2 separate regions of the Homo sapiens genome follow, and region 1 is linked to region 2. Evidence: promoter capture Hi-C in human tissues and cell types (Jung and others, 2019). All regions are on one chromosome and are shown on one strand. Each heading gives the region's core, a stretch centred on a gene start or on the middle of the fragment in contact. The rest is flanking DNA. Distances are from core to core; before and after follow the strand shown. Region 1 overlaps ZBTB46 (zinc finger and BTB domain containing 46). Region 2 holds the start of GMEB2 (glucocorticoid modulatory element binding protein 2).

Evidence for each region. The method cuts DNA at HindIII sites, captures the fragments that hold promoters and counts their contacts. A contact is called where the count stands out against the background at its distance.
Region 1: a contact is called between a fragment that was not itself captured here and the fragment with the promoter of GMEB2 in region 2, in 2 of the 25 tissues and cell types used here (dorsolateral prefrontal cortex and spleen).

The regions. Positions count from the first base shown.
Region 1 is chr20:63,781,049-63,786,246 of GRCh38, forward strand. All of the region lies in intron 2 of ZBTB46 (zinc finger and BTB domain containing 46), which reads right to left. Among named protein-coding and RNA genes, the nearest start is that of ZBTB46-AS1, 24 kb to the right of the region's middle. RefSeq lists an enhancer at 1,292-1,351. The HindIII fragment of the contact is 3,748 bases long and covers 1-3,628 here.
Region 2 is chr20:63,622,916-63,628,459 of GRCh38, forward strand. It overlaps GMEB2 (glucocorticoid modulatory element binding protein 2), which reads right to left and starts at 4,186. Exons shown (of 10, transcript NM_012384.5): 1 at 4,041-4,186. MHENCR (melanoma highly expressed competing endogenous lncRNA for miR-425 and miR-489) reads left to right here and starts at 4,320. Exons shown (of 2, transcript NR_132417.1): 1 at 4,320-4,477; 2 at 5,275-5,544. RefSeq lists silencers at 3,548-4,087, 4,178-4,627. The HindIII fragment of the contact is 46,766 bases long and covers 1-5,544 here.

The DNA.
Region 1 (5,198 bases), core at 505-3,004, 160 kb after region 2:
GAGAATGGCGTGAACCCAGGAGGCAGAGTTTGCAGTGAGCCAAGATGGTGCCACTGCACTCCAGCCTGGGTGGCAGAGCAAGACTCTGCCTCAAAAAAAAAAAAAAAAAAAAAAAGAAAGAAAAAAGGAGCCAAAGGCCAAGAGAAAATATTTTCAAAGCACATACTTGATGAAGGACTTGGAACGAGAACACCTAGGAACTCTCACCACTCAGTAATAAAAGATGGGCAGAAGATCTGAACAGACACTTCCCCAAGGAAGAGACCCAGATGTGGAGCAGGTGCCCGATGCTCATCACCGCCAGCTGAGCCACGACACTCACTCGGCCAGAGCCTCACGGTCACCACGTAGACAGCCCAATCGAAACACGGCAAAAAGACCTGGACAGACACTTTACCAAAAAAGATATATGAATGGCATCATCCGCCATCAAAGAAATGCAAATCAAAGACCATAGAGAAGCCAGGTGTGGCGTCTCACGTCTGTCATGCCAGCACTGTAGGAGGCCGAGGCAGGCGGATCACCTGAGGTCAGGAGTTCGAGACCAGCCTGGCCAACACGGCCAAACCCCGTCTCTACTAAAAATACAAAAAATCAGCCAGGGGTGGTGCTGGGTGATTGTAATCCCAGGTACTCGGGAGGCTGAGGCAGGAGAATTGCTTGAACCTAGGAGGCAGAGGTTGTAGTGAGCCAAGATCGTGCCATTGCACTCCAGCCTGGACAACAGAGCGAGACTCTGTCAAAAAAAAAATAGAGGCCGGGCGCGGTGGCTCACGCCTGTAATCCCAGCACTTTAGGAGGCTGAGGTGGGCAGATCACAAGGTCAGGAGATCGAGACCATCCTGACTAACACGGTGAAACCTCGTCTCTACTAAAAATACAAAAAAAATTAGCCAGGCGTGGTGGTGGGTGCCTGTAGTCTCAGCTACTCAGGAGGCTGAGGCAGGAGAATGGCATGAACCGGGGAGGCGGAGCTTGCAGTGAGCCGAGATGGCGCCACTGCACTCAGGCCTGGGTGAAAGAGCAAGACTCCGTCTCAAAAAAAAAAAAAAGAAAAGAGGCGTGGCGATTTTCACCAAAATCCCCGGCTACTGTATGCAAACCCCCAGTGGTGAGCCAATGACTCCTGCAGAGACGCCCAGGCTGCAACCCCCGAGCCGTGGTTTTGCCACCTTGTGGCAGAACGACTCCGCAGACCTGATTCGGTTCAGGATCTCACGATGAGTCCTGGATGAGCCACGTGGGCCCTAAACGGACCCACCAGGGCCCCGTCAGCAGAGAAGGAGGCAGGAGGGTGACAGAAGCGAGGATGGGAAGGGGCAGGAATGATGTCGGGCCACGAGCCAAGGATGCTATGGCTTCCAGAAGCCAGAAGAGGCACATGGACTCCCCTGGAGCTCCAGGGGATGCAGCCCTGCCGGCTGCTTCAGACTTCAGAGAACCGTGAGACAAAACGTGCATTGCTCTGACAATAAGTCTGGTCATTTATTACAGCAGCCATCAGGAGCCAGGTGCTTGCCAAAAGCACAAAAGCCACAAAAGACACCTGCAGGAGAGCCTCACAGCCCTGAGCCTGACACCCAAACGCCCACATCCAGACAACCACAGAACAGGCTGCAGCCACGCCCCATGCCCCACGACCCACGCCCCACACCCACAGGTGAGGAGCAGTGTTGCTGCTGGCTGCGGCCGTGAGTCCCTCCCACACCAGGACAAGGAGCAAAGCCAGAGATGCAAGGACACCCTGCCGAGTGGCTGCGTTAAAAGTTCAGTTGGCCAGGCAGTGGCTCACACCTGTGATCCCAGCACCATGGGAGGCCCAGGCGGGAGGATCGCTAAGCCCAGGAGTTTGAGACTGGCCTGGGCAACATAGTGAGATCCCGTCTCCCGTCATAGTGAGATCTACATCTCTATAAAAAACATTTTTAAAAATTAGCCAGGCGTGGTGGCGCACGCCCATAGTCCCAGCTACTCAGGAGGCTGAGGTGGGAGGATCACCTGAGCCCAGGAGGTTGAGGCTGCCGTGAGCCGAGATTGTACCACTGCACTCCAGCCTGGGCAAGAGAGTGAGACCTTGTCTTAAAAAAAACAAAAAACACAGCTGGGCGTGGTGGTTCATGCCTGTAATCCCAGCACTTTGGGAGGCTGAGGTGGGTGGATCACAAGTTCAAGAGATTGAGACCAGCCTGGCCAACATGGCAAAACCCCGTCTCTACTAAAAATACAAAATATCAGCTGGGCGTGGTGGCACGTGCCTGTAGTCCCAGCTACTCGGGAGGCTGAGGCAGGAGAATCACTTGAACCCGAGAGGCAGAGATTGCAGTGAGCCGAGATCGCGCCATTGCACTCCAGCCTGGCGACCGAGCGAGACTCCGTCTCAAAACAAAAACAAAAACAAAAAATACTCTGTCCAGTGCCGAGTGCAGAATTTTTTTAAAAATAAAACAAAAACAAAAAACAGCACGTTCCTGTGAAGGGTGTTATTGTCTCTGTCCCCGTCACCAGCTGCTCCCCAACAGACTGTAATGTGATCAAAGCTGATTGCAGGTAATTCTGTTCATACCTGAAAGCAAAAACATCTAGAGAAGGCGCAGCTGAGTTCTCAAGCTTCCCAGGACAGGACTGAACAGGGGAGTGGATTAAAAGAGGCCAAGCCAAGCATCTCCCGAGCAGCTGTGGGATCGGGGTGCGGAGCCGGACGCCCTTCCCACCCCACTACTGACCAAAGCACATGATGTCATCTTTTGGTTGAAACCCTTCCACCCAAAAAATAAAAAGACCATCCCAAGTGCAGGAAATTTTCTTCAACAGAACAATCAGATCTGCCGTGCTGCTGAAACAGGCTGTGAAAGGTGTTCAGGAGGCGAAACATTGTTCAGGAGGCCAGGTGGGGGAACCTCACATTCCGTCGGGCACCAGGAGGGCCGAGATGCCACGCACACTCAGGACAGGAGTCCCTGCAGGGACGTAACCTCAGAGGTAACTCCCTGCCCTCGTGTGATCAGGACGGCTGAGACCGTGGTGGGGGTCCTCCTCCCCAACCTTCGTGGAGAGAAAGAGGGAACACCAGAAGGGGACACAGCCACGGCCCCCTCCGCTCACCAGTTCCTGCTTTATCCCCAGCAAAGAGCTCTGGGGGCGGTGAGGAGCTGCTGTCAGCACAAGGGAGAGAAACCCTGAGACCCGCCGGAGGCAGGCCGGCCTGGTCCAAGAAGCAGCTCGAAGACCACCCTACCCTGAGAGCTGGGACCCTCACTCCCCTCCCGGAGCAGACAGGAGGCTTGCAGGCAGTGCTAGGCACCCGAGAGGCCATTGTCCCCCATCTGGAGCTCCCGCAGTTCTGATGTACGCTTAAAAATCCCAACATGTCAAGCTCCCACCTCACCAGGGTTCAAGTACACACTTCACAGAACACACAGATCCTCCTGTAGCAGCACCGCTTAGGCATGTGTGGGGCCATTTAGTTGGGGCACCTGGGCTGTTTCTTTACCATCTTCTCATGCAGTAGCTACACATCCACTTTGTCAAGGCCTCACCAGTCACCTCTCAGGTCCTTACTGTGCTCCCTCCGCAGATGAGAAGGAGACGCCAGGGCCTGGGGAGGCACGGGCCTGCCTGCCTGCCCCATAGCTGCAAACATGAATCTGAACATTTTAATGCTATTTCCCACAAGCTCTCATAGAAGTGAACTGCTGTAACTCAGAAATAAATTTCAAGGGATACTGTTTCTTGGAAGCTGCTCAGTTAGAATGAATTTGGCCTCCCTGCCTAGAAAATCACTCTTAAAAGCAAACAGGCCTCAGGGTCACCAGGGGCCGGGATGATGCACAGAGGGGTTGGGGCATCGGCGTCGAATGATCCACGGTGACCACTTGACATGTGTCCTTAGAAAAGAGACTTTGTGGCCGGGCGTGGTGGCTCACGCCTGTCATCCCAGCACTTTGGGAGGCCGAGGCAGGCGGATCACGAGGTCAAGAGATCGAGACCGTCCTGGCCAACATGGTGAAACCCCGTCTCTACTAAAAATACAAAAATTAGCCGGGCGTGGTGGTGGGCACCTGTAGTCCCAGCTACTCGGGAGGCTGAGGCAGGAGAATGATGTGAACCTGGGAGGTGGAGGTTGCGGTGAGCTGAGATTGCACCACTGCACTCCAGCCCGGCAACAGAGCGAGACTCAAAAAAAAAAAAAAAGAAAAGAAAAGAAAAAGAAAGAAGGAAAAGGGACTTTGTGGCCCGGCACACTGGCTCACGCCTGTAATCCCAGCACTTTGGGAGGCTGAGGCGGGCGGACCGCTTGAGGTCAGGAGTTCGAGACAAGCCTGGCCAATATGGTGAAACCCCGTCTCTACTAAAAATACAGAAATTAGCCGGGCGTGGTCACGGGAGCCTGTAATCCCAGCTACTCGGAGGCTGAGGCAGGAGAATCACTTGAACCCAGGAAGCGGAGGCTGCAGTGAGTCGAGATCACACCACCGCACTCCAGCCTGGGTGACAGTGACGCTCTGTCTCAAAAATAAAAAAAATTTAAAAAAGGGCCTTTGCTTCTATAAATGGGATGAAAATTAAAAATCCTCTTCTCTAAGATAGAATAAATCTTTAATGGAAACAAACTGACCTCCATGGGATCATGATCTACTTCCAAACCCCAAGCTTCCAAATCCCAGCCTGAGGGCTCAGACGGAGGACGCAGCTCAGGGAGTCACTGGCCGCCACAGCGTGGGCAGAACCATCCTCCATCCTCACACAGCTCACAGCCTTGTGTCCTCATCTTAGCAACTCGGAATAATCTAATGGAAGAGTTTCACAGTTGCCTTGGAAACCCAAGGGATTTAAGACTCTAACAAAAGTACACAGCCAAAATCACTTGTTGGATTCTAAAAACACCTTCTGCTCGACAACTGCATTTAAAGCATTCAGCCCACAGGCTTAAGGAGTGCACTATTTCTCAGTGCCTGCATCGACTCTCATAATACAAAGGCCTCCAGCACGGGCACCTGCCAGCGAGTTACGTGCACGCACAGGGAGGTGGCCTGGGACCACTGGGAGGGGCCTCGCTGTGCTGACAACGGACCCTGCAGCGCATCTGTAAACATCAGAATAAACCCCCCAAAGCCGTGTCTCTTGCCAGGGACCACTGCTTCTCAGATTTTAGTTGGAGCTAGTGGAAGATTATAAACAGTTACAAGCAGATGGAAAGG
Region 2 (5,544 bases), core at 2,936-5,435:
TGGGAGAGCAGTGAGTGTGGCGGACGGTGAGTGGCGGGGAGGGCTGTGGTAGGTTTAGGGTAAGAAGGGGCAGCGCCCAGAGCCCAGAGAACACCAGTGAGGGCTCCACAGGAACACTACTCAAAGTATTCACGGAACACATCTAAACACAAGCACTAAGGACTAAGTGCGAGGGACAAGAAAATATTCCCCGTTTCCTGTTTCAGGAGGGTATCGAAAATGAGTGATGGAAGGAAAATGTATTGTTTAAATGAGGAAAAAAAATTTTTACAAATTAAGAACATCCTGGAACATGATGAGCCGTTTACTGTCACTCAATTTAAATGGTGGCCATCTAGGACAGAGCGCCTAAGGGGAAAGGGGGCTCACAGGTGAACCCCTCCAGCTGCTGGTGGGCAATTTCCCATTAGGGCATCAGGGTCTCTGAAGACTGTCTTCAGATGCTTTTTAGCCAGGAAAGTTACAATGATGAATTCGTTTACACTGGCGGAATTACTTCGTATTTCTCAAATATAATGTTTTCACTAGCATAACTTTGTTGTTGTAGACTTAGGCTTCAAAATAAAGAACTTTAAACAAACATGAATAAAAAGCCACTTTAGGCCGGGCGCGGTGGCTCACACTTGTAATCCCAGCACTTTGGGAGGCCGCGGCGGGTGGATCATAAGGTCAGAAGTTCAAAGACCAGCCTGATCAATACGGTGAAACCCCGTCTCTACTAAAAATACAAAAATTAGCCGGGCGCGGTGGCAGGTGCCTGTAATCTCAGCTACTTGGGAGGCTGAGGCAGGAGAATCGCTTGAACCTGGGCAGCAGAGGTTGCAGTGAGCCAAGATCATGCCACTGCACTCAAGCCTGGGTGACAGAGTGAGACTCTCTCTTAAAAAAAAAAAGCCACTTTAAAATTTTACTCAGGCCAGGTGTGGTGGCTCACGCCCATAATCCTAGCACTTTGGGAGGCCGAGGCGAGCAGATCACCTGAGGTCAGGAGTTAGACCAGCCTGGCCAACATGGTAAAACCTTGTCTCTACTGAAAACACAAAAATTAGCTGGGCGTGGTGGTGTGCCCATGTAATCCCAGCTACTCAGGAGGCTGAAGTGAGAGAACTGCTTGAACCCGGGAGGCAGAGGCTGCAGTGTGCCAAGACTGCACCACTACACTTCAGCCTGGGCGACAGAGCAAGACCCTGTCTCAGAAAAAAAAAAAATTCAAAAATTTGGCCAGGCGTGGTGGCTCACGCCTGTAATCCCATCACTTTGGAAGGCCGAGGCGGGTGGATCACCTGAGGTCAGGAATTCAAGACCAGCCTGGCCACCATGATGAAACCCTGTCTCTACTAAAAATACAAAAAAAAAAAAACAAATTGGCCGGGCATGGTGGCGGGTGCCTGTAATCCCACCTACTTGGGAGGCTGAGGCAGGAGAATCTCTCGAACTCCGGAGGCAGAGGTTGCAGCGAGCCAAGATTGTGCCACTGCACTCCAGCCTAGACAACAGAGCGAGACTCTGTCTCAAAAAAAAAAAAATTAAAATTAAAAAATAAAAATTTCATTTAAAATACTACTGATCTCCCGTGCTGACTTCTCGGGGTTTAACTCTCACTGAGGAGACGCTGCTTTCATAAGGGTAAGCTCAGCAGGGGCAACTAAAGTCATTTAAGCAGAGAGCTGCAAAGAGGCAACAGCCTCACTGCAGGCAGGGGTCCTCGTCACAGCTTCAGGGCTTTGCAGAGGATTACGCAATGTACACGCACAAAACTGAATTCCAGCCTCTCCATTGGCAACTGCATACATACATATATTCTTTTTTTGAGACGGAGTCTCGCTCTGTAGCCCAGGTTGGACTGCAGTGGCCCGATCTCGGCTCAATGCAAGCTCTGCCTCCCGGGTTCAAGCGATTCTCTTGCCTCAGCCTCCTGAGTAGCTGGGATTACAGGCGCCCACCACCACGCCCGGCTAATTTTTGTATTTTTAGTAGAGACGGGGTTTCACCATGTTGGCCAGGACAGTCTCGATCTCCTGACCTCGTGATCCGCCCGCCTCTGCCTCCCAAAGTGCTGGGATTACAGGCGTGAGCCACTGAGCCTGGCCTCCAATGGCAACTATATTAAAGGTTCAAAGCAATATGCACAAAAGTTACCTCACAGAAAATAGTGCAAGTCCTTGATACAATGCTCTTTAGACACAGAAGAAGCACTATAGAATAGAGCACCTCGCCCTATTGCCTTCCCAAGGGCGAGCACCCCCTCCTCTCTCCACAGCTCCTTCTTTGTTTTTTTGAGATGGAGTCTCGCTCTGTCACCCAGGCTGGAGTGCAATGGCAAAATCTTGGCTCACTGCAACCTCCGCCTCCCGGGTTGAAGTGATTCTCCTGCCTCAGCCTCCCGAGTAGCTGGGACTACAGGCACCCAACACGCCTAGCTAATTTTTGCATTTTTGGTAGAGACGGGGTTTCATCATGTTGGCCAGGCTGGTCTCGAACTCCTGACCTCCAGTGATCCTCCCACCTTGACCTCCCATAGTGCTGGGATTATAGGTGTGAGCCACTACACCTGGCCTCTCCACAGCCCCTTCTGTGTTGAAGCCAAGACCCACCCAGCTTTGATCCCAAGGCTTGGGTTCCCCACTAGTGTGAAGTGAGTTTCCAAATTATTAGGTAAATCAGATATGAGAAAATATTTTATTTTACTTTTTTTTTTTTGAGACGCAATCTTGCTCCGTCACCCAGGCTGGAGTGCAATGGCACCATCTCCACTCACTGCAACCTCTGCCTTCTGGGTTCAAGCAATTCTCCTGCCTCAGCCTCCCAACTAGCTGGGATTACAAGTGCACACCACCACGCCCGGCTAACTTTTGTATTTTTAGTAGAGACAGGGTTTCACCGTGTTAGCCAGGCTGCTCTCAAACTCCTGACCTCATGATCCGCCCACGTCGGGCTCCCAAAGTGGTGGGATTACAGGTGTGAGCCATCACACCTGGCCCAAGAAAATATTTTTAAACTAGTATTCTTGACCGGCACGGTCAACACTGATGTAATTGAAACTGTTGTATTTGAAGTGTTAGCAAAGAAAGAGAATTCTGGTTCAACAGAAAAGTCAGTCACGACTTTTCAGTCACGCATGAATTACACAGTAACCAAATAGATAACATGCCATGACTGACGACGGGCCCACAACAAATCAGCTCCGACCAACAGGGTCCACACCACCATGGGTCTACACAGATCCAGGTCCCGCCTGTGAGCCTACAGTGACGCGGGCCCCTGTGGGGTGGTCCCTGCAGGTCAGGTCCCTGAGAGTGGGTCCCAGTGGGGTGATCCCTGCGGGTCGCGTCCCTGCGAGTTGGGTGCCTGCCGGGTGGCCCCTGCGGGTCGGGTGCCTGCGGGGTGGTCCCTATGGGTCGCGTCCCTGCGGGTCGGGTGCCTGCGGGGTGGCCCCTGGGAATCGCGTCCCTGCGGGTCGGGTGCCTGCGGGGTGGCCCCTGGGGATCGCGTCCCTGCGGGTCGGGTGCCTGCGGGGTGGCCCCTGGGGATCGCGTCCCTGCGGGTCGGGTGCCTGCGGGGTGGTCCTTGTGGGTCGCGTCCCTGTGGGGTGGTCCCTGTGGGTCGCGTCCCTGTGGGGTGGCCCCTGCGGGTCGCGTGGTGGCCCCTGCGGGTCGGGTGCCTGCGGGGTGGTCCCTGTGGGTCGCGTCCCTGCGGGTCGGGTGCCTGCGGGGTGGTCCCTGCGGGTCGCACCCCTGCGGCGTGGTCCCCCCGGGATGGGTCCACCGAGGAGGCCGCTGGAGGCCGAGCCCGCGCCCGCCCGCGGCGCCAAGATGGAGGCAGGAAGCGCCGCCGCCCGCGCCCGCCACCGCCCGCGCCGCCCGCCTGACGCCGCCGTTGCGCCTGACGCCGCCGCCCGCGCGGCCGCCCCTCCCCCGGCCCTCCCCTCCCCCCGCCGTAACGTCCTGACGCTCCGCAGGGACCCCTGACTGGACGGCGGCGCGTGAGCGGAGCGAGAGGCCTCGCCGCGGGGGGGCCGCGGGCTCGCCGGCGCCGCTTACCTGGGGCCGCGCCGGGCCTGCTTAGGCACCCGGCGGGGGCGGCGGCGTCGGGAGCTGCGGCGGCGGCGGGCGGCGGCGGCGGCCGCGGGCTTCGCTCCTTGTTGGGGATTCGGCGGCGGCGGCGGCGCGGGCGCGCGCTTCCTAGTGACGCAGGCGGCGGGGCCGCGCACGCACGGGGCTGGGAGGGCCGGACACTTATTTGGCGCTCGCGGAGGAGGAAGGCGGGGCCGTGAAATAAGGCCCGACGGGCCCCGGGGCGCGTGCGCGGACCGACACTGTCAGCTCCTAACGCCGCAGGTTCCTCCTGGTCCCCGAGGCCCCCGGTCGGGCGTTGCCTGCCCCGCGCGGGCGGCCGGGCCGAGGGACGATGGTCAGTGGACGGACGGCGCCAGGGAGCAGTGCCCACGCGCGGCAGGGCGGTACCTTCAGGCCTCCAGGTACGGGCGCTCCTCGCCCGGACGCTGCTGTGTGTGAATGGGCGCGAGGGGACTCCCCTGCGGGGCGGACGCCTGAACACGAGGCTGTGGAGGAGGACGCTGTAGGGTGCGCGGACTCACGCGGAACATGCCAGAGGCTCAGCCAGCCACGGCGCTCCCAGCGTGGAGGGCGAGGGGCATCCGGGAGCGGCCGGGAGGGCTCGGTCACCCCTCAAGCTGTCACCCCAGTCCCACAACCAGCACCCCGATCCTATCGCAGTCCCACAGCCGACACCCCGATCCCACCCCTGCCCAACAGCCGGCACCCACCCCAATCCCATAGCTAACACCCCGGTCCCACCGCTGTCCCACGGCCGGCACCCCGATCCCACCCCAGTCCCGCAGCTGGCACCCCGATCCCACCCCAGCCCAACAGCTGGCACCCACCCCGATCCCACCGCTGTCCCACAGCCGGCACCCCGATCCCACCCCAGTCCCGCAGCCGGCACCCCGATCCCACAGCCGGCACTCACCCCGATCGCATAGCATAGCTGATACCCCGATCCCACCCCAGTCCCATAGCCAGCACCCCGATCCCACCCCAGTCCCATAGCCAGCACCTCGATCCCATAGATGACACCCCGATCCCGCCCCAGTCCTATAGCCCGCACCCCGATCCCACCCGAGTCCCGCAGCCGGCACCCCATCCCACCCATGTCCCACAGTCGGCACCCCGATCCCACTCGGATCCGGCAGCCAGCTTGGATCCTGTGGCCCTCCTCCAGCCCCCAGGGCTCATTTATATGTTTTATTGGCAGAGGCTGGGGCTGGCTCTGTTGGCCTCTGTGCTGGGTTTCTTCCTCTGCACCGCAGGACTGGCTCTCCTGACCTCTCCAGGTGTCATCGAACACCCTTGTGCTTGCTGTCACCCGCTGCCTGTCTGCAGGATCCCGGATTCCGTATCAGGGGACCGAAATTAGTCGGAAAATAGGAAGCAGGTGCTCGCTTGGATGGAACCCTGACCCTGTGCTCACACTTGTAGGAGGAGGGCTCTGCAGGCCGCCTCCCGGAACGGGAGGTTCCCAAGC